Regions from separate parts of the Homo sapiens genome. Here region 1 is linked to region 2. Evidence: promoter capture Hi-C in human tissues and cell types (Jung and others, 2019). All regions are on one chromosome and are shown on one strand. The core of a region is centred on a gene start or on the middle of the fragment in contact, and the rest is flanking DNA. Distances in the headings are between cores, read along the strand shown. Region 1 has its middle 33 kb from the start of CCDC70. Region 2 holds the start of NEK3 (NIMA related kinase 3).

Region 1 (2,941 bases), core at 114-2,613, 260 kb before region 2:
TGCATCAAAAGCTCTGTCTCCCTCAGTAAAGAAGTACATGCGAAAAGCATCCCAAATTAGAAAGTCTGGGCCTTGTTTCTGTGCTGAAGTATTGTCCCTCCTTCCCTGCACCCTAATCTCAGATCCCCCTCTTCCTTTAGCTTCACCAGGACCTGCTGCTTCAGAATCACTGTGGTCCTGAGACTAATCAGGAAAAAACAGCAACAACGATGAATGTGTGTTTTTCTGGGATTCTCCCCAAAACAATGTTTACTTTAGAGGAGCTGTACAAAAATCTCTTCCCCTGGCTCACACCGTATGCGCTTCTGCTTGGCCTCTTCACATTGAGAATGTGAACATTCAAATGATCAGCATCAGCTGAAGACTCGATCACCAGGGAATGTGATCGTGCTCAGAGGAGGCCACACAGTTGCTTCTGCGTTTGGGAAAATGTTTTTTATTTAATTAATGTTATTTATTGGATAGGTGCCCAGAATTAAGGTCAGTCCTGAAAAGACTGTTTTTTAAGATGTAAAAATAATTCCAAAAGCTTGTCATCTTGTTGTGGAGAAAACAAATATAATACATGAAATCCTCAATGCAGAACTTTGTATGATTTAAATAATAACGAAGATCACAATAGTAATAAATGATGAAGACAGTAGTGCTATATGCAGAGCAAAGAAGGAAGAAGTCATCACACAGGACGGAGCCTGGAAGGCCTGAGACAGGCCAGCAAGTTTCTAATCTTCAAATTGAGACTAAATGGATACAGACACACCACACCCCCTGCATTGAAGAACTGCTTGGGGAACAAGTTTGTAGTCATCACAACTTTAGAGGTTAAAAAGTGTCAGCAACAATTCAAATCATCAAGGAGGGAGTGGGATGTATTGGGACAGATAACTGTGAAAGGACAGGGACAGAAGTGGCTGCAGGCACAACTGGATTCAGGAACTAAAGCAAAGGCATGAGTGCTCTCCAGCTCTCCACACCTCATGTGTTGGGCCTGTTCTCTCTCCCTACAGACACTCTTTCTTTGTGAGTCAGGGGACTGGGACATCAGCACAGGAAATACCAGCTTTATGCCCTCCCAGGTAATAAAAATCCAAGATAGAAGAGCCCTACATGTGGAAGTTCAGTAAAAGGACTCTGATTGGCCAGGTTTGGGTGACGTATTCACCCTTGGAGCCAATCACTGCAGCTGGGGATGAGGCGATGGTGGTTGGCTGGGGTTTTGCTGGGGAGCTAAGTTCTGTAAATCTGAAAATTACAGCTGCAGGGTGAGAAGCAGATGCCCAGTGGATGTTCAAAGGAAAGGCGCGAAAGGACTGAGAAGTTTGCAAAAGGGCAAACCCAAATGTGCAAATGGAGCCTGCAGTCGCTTAAAGCAGTGGTCCCCAACGTTTTTGGCACCAGGGACCAGTTTCGTGGAAGACAATTTTTCCATGGACCAGGCTGGGGAATGGTTTCAGGATGATTCAAGTGCATTACATTTAGTGTGCACTTGATTTCTATTATTATTACATTGTAATATATAACGGAATAATTCTACAACTCACCATGATGTAGAATTAGTGGGAGCCCTGAGCTTGTTTTCCTGCAACTAGATGGTCCCATCTGGGGGTCATGGGAGACAGTGACAGATCATCAGGTGTTAGATTCTCATAAGGAGTGGGGAAACTAGATCACTGGCATGCACAGTTCACAATAGGGTTCATGCTCCTATGAGAATCTAATGCCACTGCTGATCTGACAGGAGGTGGAGCTCAGGTGGTAATTTAAGTGATGGGGAGCAGCTGTATATACAGATGAAGCTTCGCTTGCTCACCTGCCACTCACCTCCTGCTGTGTGGCCCAGTTCCTAACAGGCCATGGACAAGTACTGGTCCATAGCCCAGGGGCTGGGGACCCCTGACTTAAAGGAAAAAGGAACTTGGGTCAGCCTGGCTGAGATGCATGTGGTATTGGGGTGGTTTGTGGGGAGCTGCAGAGAACCCATAACCAGCATAGGCTCTGATAGCATTGTCCTCTTCAGCTGCCATTGTGGGGTGGGAAACTGCCTCTGAAGATGGTTTTCTAAATATTCCTTATGGATGGGGCTCACACTCGGTAGTAACTGCAGGGAAATCGAGCCACAAGACAGTGGCTCAAGTCAGATTCTCTGTGCTTTAGGCAGGGAATGGATTCTGGCTGTCTCTTGGATAGCCCTGAAAAGAACTCTGGTGGGAAGGTGCAGAGGGGTGTTTGCTATGGGCTCCACCTGGGACATTTATCCATCTACCTGTGGGACAGGGCCTGAAGCTAGGGCTACCAAGATAGCAGACCAGGCATTTCCTCATCTTCAACCTCCTGTCCCCTCACTCCTCCCAGCTAGACCCTGACACCACTGCCTACATCCCCCCACCCTCTGCCCTGGGATGGGGGAAAAAATAAAACAGCTGAGCATGCAGCTAATGATGATATTTACAGCTACCAGTAGGGAGTGTTCCCAATGCGCCAAATGCTTAACATCCGTGATCTGACAGCCCCCCTGTGATGGTAAATATCCTCTCCACTTCTCAGATTCCAATACACAACCCCTGAGACTCAGGATGCTCTTGCCATGGTCTTTTTTCCCTTTTTAAATTTTTACAAAAATTTCCCACATAGCAACCAACGTAACCACAAGCCTCTTCTAACAGCTGCCTGACCCTCCTCCTCTTAGCCTAAACACTTCATCTCTTTTCTGTGGACAATGCCTGCTTTCAAAAGCTCTTTTCTTCAGGGAGAACAAGAGTCTGCTAAATTCTATTAGTGTTCAGCAAACCCCAGGGCCCCAGTCTCAACTTTGGCACAGGAAAGTCCAACACTCCACATCCCCTTCCTGGAGAAGCCAATCTGTGGGAAATGTAACTCTCAGCCTACAAGAAAGCTTCAGACTGACTTGTCTTTTTCTCCAGCTCCTTCTAGCTGTGCCATC
Region 2 (2,908 bases), core at 13-2,512:
ATTTCTTCATATAACCAAATCAGTCATACACATTGTCTTCGAAACAATGTTTTTCCAAGATCGATGAGGTCTTTTGAGTGTATATAGATGTGAAAGAAACAAGTCCTTTACTACTATTCTAACACCTGGTATTACACGGTTTAACATGGAAGCCAAGTTTCCCCATGATCTTATTCTTCGTTTCTTCGGGGCTTTATTCTATGCAATGGAGAGTAACTGAAAATTAAGAGCAACCAGACTTCTTAGCTGAAAACCACATTTGATATTTTCTGCCCACATTTGCCTGTTACTCAATATTACACCCATATGATCATTACAAGACCTGAATACACTCTGGACATGGCAAAAGTATATCGGCCCCTTCGCATGCCTGCAACAATACTTTTAAAAACCTAATAAAGTGATTTGCAAATACCCAGAAGTGGGATCACCAGTGAGATACGGGCTAAGTTCAGAAAGGTCCCTGAAACCACCTTTACAGATGTATAAGTAATGCGAGAAATCTAACATGACTGACTCCATCTTGCTTCTAACCTCACGGGCTAAGTTTTCACCGTGTTGTCGTTTTCTTATTCTAGCACAGAGGCTAGGATAACTGGGAGAGGGATTTCGTGTAAACTTCAAGACAAGGGAAACTGACCCCACCCCTTCCTGGGAACCAACGAAGCCGCCCCGAGTTTCAGAAGCTCTTGTGATTTCATCCCCAGCCGGTCAACTGTTTCAGTTCCCCAGCCCCCCGAAGCCAAAATGCCCTTTAAAACCCTCGCCCCCGAATTCTCGGGGAGACAGGTCTGAGACCCTGTTCTGGTTTGGCCAGCCCTGCGCTTATTAACTTCTTTTTTTGCTGCAACAGCGGTTCTCACTGGTTCTTTCCGGGCAGCGAGCGAGAAGAATCCGTTGAGCCGGGGCCGGCGCCCGCGGGGCAACTGCACCGCGGGGGAGCCCAGTCGCCCCGCTCACCCGTGAGGGCCCTTTCTCCTGGAAAAGCCGCTCCGCCCTGCTGACCCCCACGGCACCGCGCGCCCAGACCCCAAGGCGGCGAGGGACTTGCGGGTTTGCGGCGAGTGGTCCAGACCGCGGGGCGGAAGTGAGGGGCGCGGCCGCGCGTCCGGGGCGCGTCTACCCCTCGCTCCCACTCGGCTCCGCGCCGCGACCACGCGCCGCCCTCCTCGTTCTAGAGGCAGCCCGCCAGGGCGGGGACCACTCACCCGCTTCCCCGGCGACCCTAGTCCACTCCTTGGCCTGGCAACCGGCGGCTTCCGCGGGGCGGGCCCGGCGGGTCGTCTCTCGGGTTGCGGGTGAAGGAAGCCGCCTGGGTCTGGCGGGAGGCACTGTTCTTGGAGTAGCCGGGCCTACGAAGAGCACGTTTTAAAGCTGTTGTTCCACGTTGCGGTGGAACAGTGCTGTTAACATTGAGGGAAATTGTCCCCGACTAACTGAGTTCTGTCTGCAGGTTAAGTGAAAGCCTATGTAGATAAATTTCACGGGCACAGCACTCAGTGCTAGCTAGAACTTACTAGCTATGTGACCTTGGGCAATTGTGGAAGGCGGGATAATGCTTCCGCCTCAGGATGTCCACATCCTACTCCCTGGAACCTGTGCGTTTGTTCTCTTGCTTGGCAGAGGGGGTTAAGATTGCAGATGGAATTAAGGTTGCTTATCAGCGGACTTTAAAATAAGGTGACGATCTTGGAGTGTGTGCTTGGGTAATTACAAAGTAATTACAAGGGTTCTCTAAAGTGGAAGGGGCCCAAAAAGAAGGTCAGTATGAGAAAGCTATTTGAAGGTGGAGGAAGGGGCAACAGCCAAGGAATGCAGCTGGCCTCAAGAAGCTGGAAGAGGAGCAGGCACAGTGTCTCATGTTTGCAATCCCAGTGCTTTGGAAGGCAGAGGCAGGAGAGGAACACTTTAGCCCAGGAGTTCGAGATCAGCCTGGGCAACATAGTGAGACACTCGTCTCTACGAAAAATTAACTAGACATAGCGACGGGCACTGTGGTCCCAGCTGCTCGGGGGATTGGGGCAGGAGGATCACTAGAGCTGGAGAGGGCTCATGATCCCACCACTGCAGTCCAGCTTTGGTGACAGAGCAAGAACCTGTCTCCAAAAAAAAAAAAAAATATATATATATATATATATATATATATAAAGGAGGAGGTGGGAGGTGGAAAAGGAGGAGAAGCTAGAAAAGGAGGGAAAAACAAAAAACAAAAACCAAATTGTTCCCCAGAGCTTCCAGAAGTAACAGTCCAGCTGACCCCTTGATTTTTTTGTTTTTTGAAACAGGGTCTTGCTATGTTGCCAAGACTGGTTTTGAGCTCCCGGGCTCAAGCGATCCGCCCACCTCAGCCTCCTGAGTGGCTGGGACTACAGGAAAACCACCATGCACACTGACGCCTTGATTTTAACCCAGTGAGCTGTATTTCTGAACTTCAGAACTGTAAGGTAATAAATTCGTGTCGTTTTAGCCACTTAGGTTGTCACAGTTTGTTACAGAAGCCTTAGGAAACTAATACAGCAGAGTAACTAAATCCCTCTGTATAAAAGTATAGAACCTACCTCATAGGATTACTGTGAACAACATCTGGTTACCCTTTACTTGTAAGCGCTGAACGTGTTCATTATAACGTGTCAACCAGAGTCAGAGAGACCGAAATCCAAGTAAAGAAGTTTATTGGCAGTCTGAGAATTGCAGTTCAAGGAACACAGATTCCAGAAGCATTTGAATTGTGTCCTGACCAGCTATTTTTGGGTAGGGTTTTTAAAGGAAGTAAGAAGTCAGTTCTCACTAGTTCATCCATAACCTTCGTAACCCACTATTTTGATTGAAGATAAAGCGTTATCATGACAGTTCATTGGTTTCTAGGCAAAAGTCCTTGATTCAGGGGTTTGAGAAAAGTTCAGTCCTC

What was found. Contacts are between HindIII fragments. The study calls those that stand out against the background at their distance.
Region 1: a contact is called between a fragment that was not itself captured here and the fragment with the promoter of NEK3 in region 2, in 1 of the 25 tissues and cell types used here (dorsolateral prefrontal cortex).

What each region holds. Positions count from the first base shown.
Region 1 is chr13:51,893,312-51,896,252 of GRCh38, forward strand. It overlaps a transcript of TMEM272 not described here. Among named protein-coding and RNA genes, the nearest start is that of CCDC70, 33 kb to the left of the region's middle. The HindIII fragment of the contact is 3,594 bases long and covers 1-2,941 here.
Region 2 is chr13:52,158,335-52,161,242 of GRCh38, forward strand. NEK3 (NIMA related kinase 3) reads right to left here and starts at 1,263. Exons shown (of 16, transcript NM_002498.3): 1 at 1,209-1,263. RefSeq lists silencers at 950-1,059, 1,140-1,199. The HindIII fragment of the contact is 9,103 bases long and covers 1-2,908 here.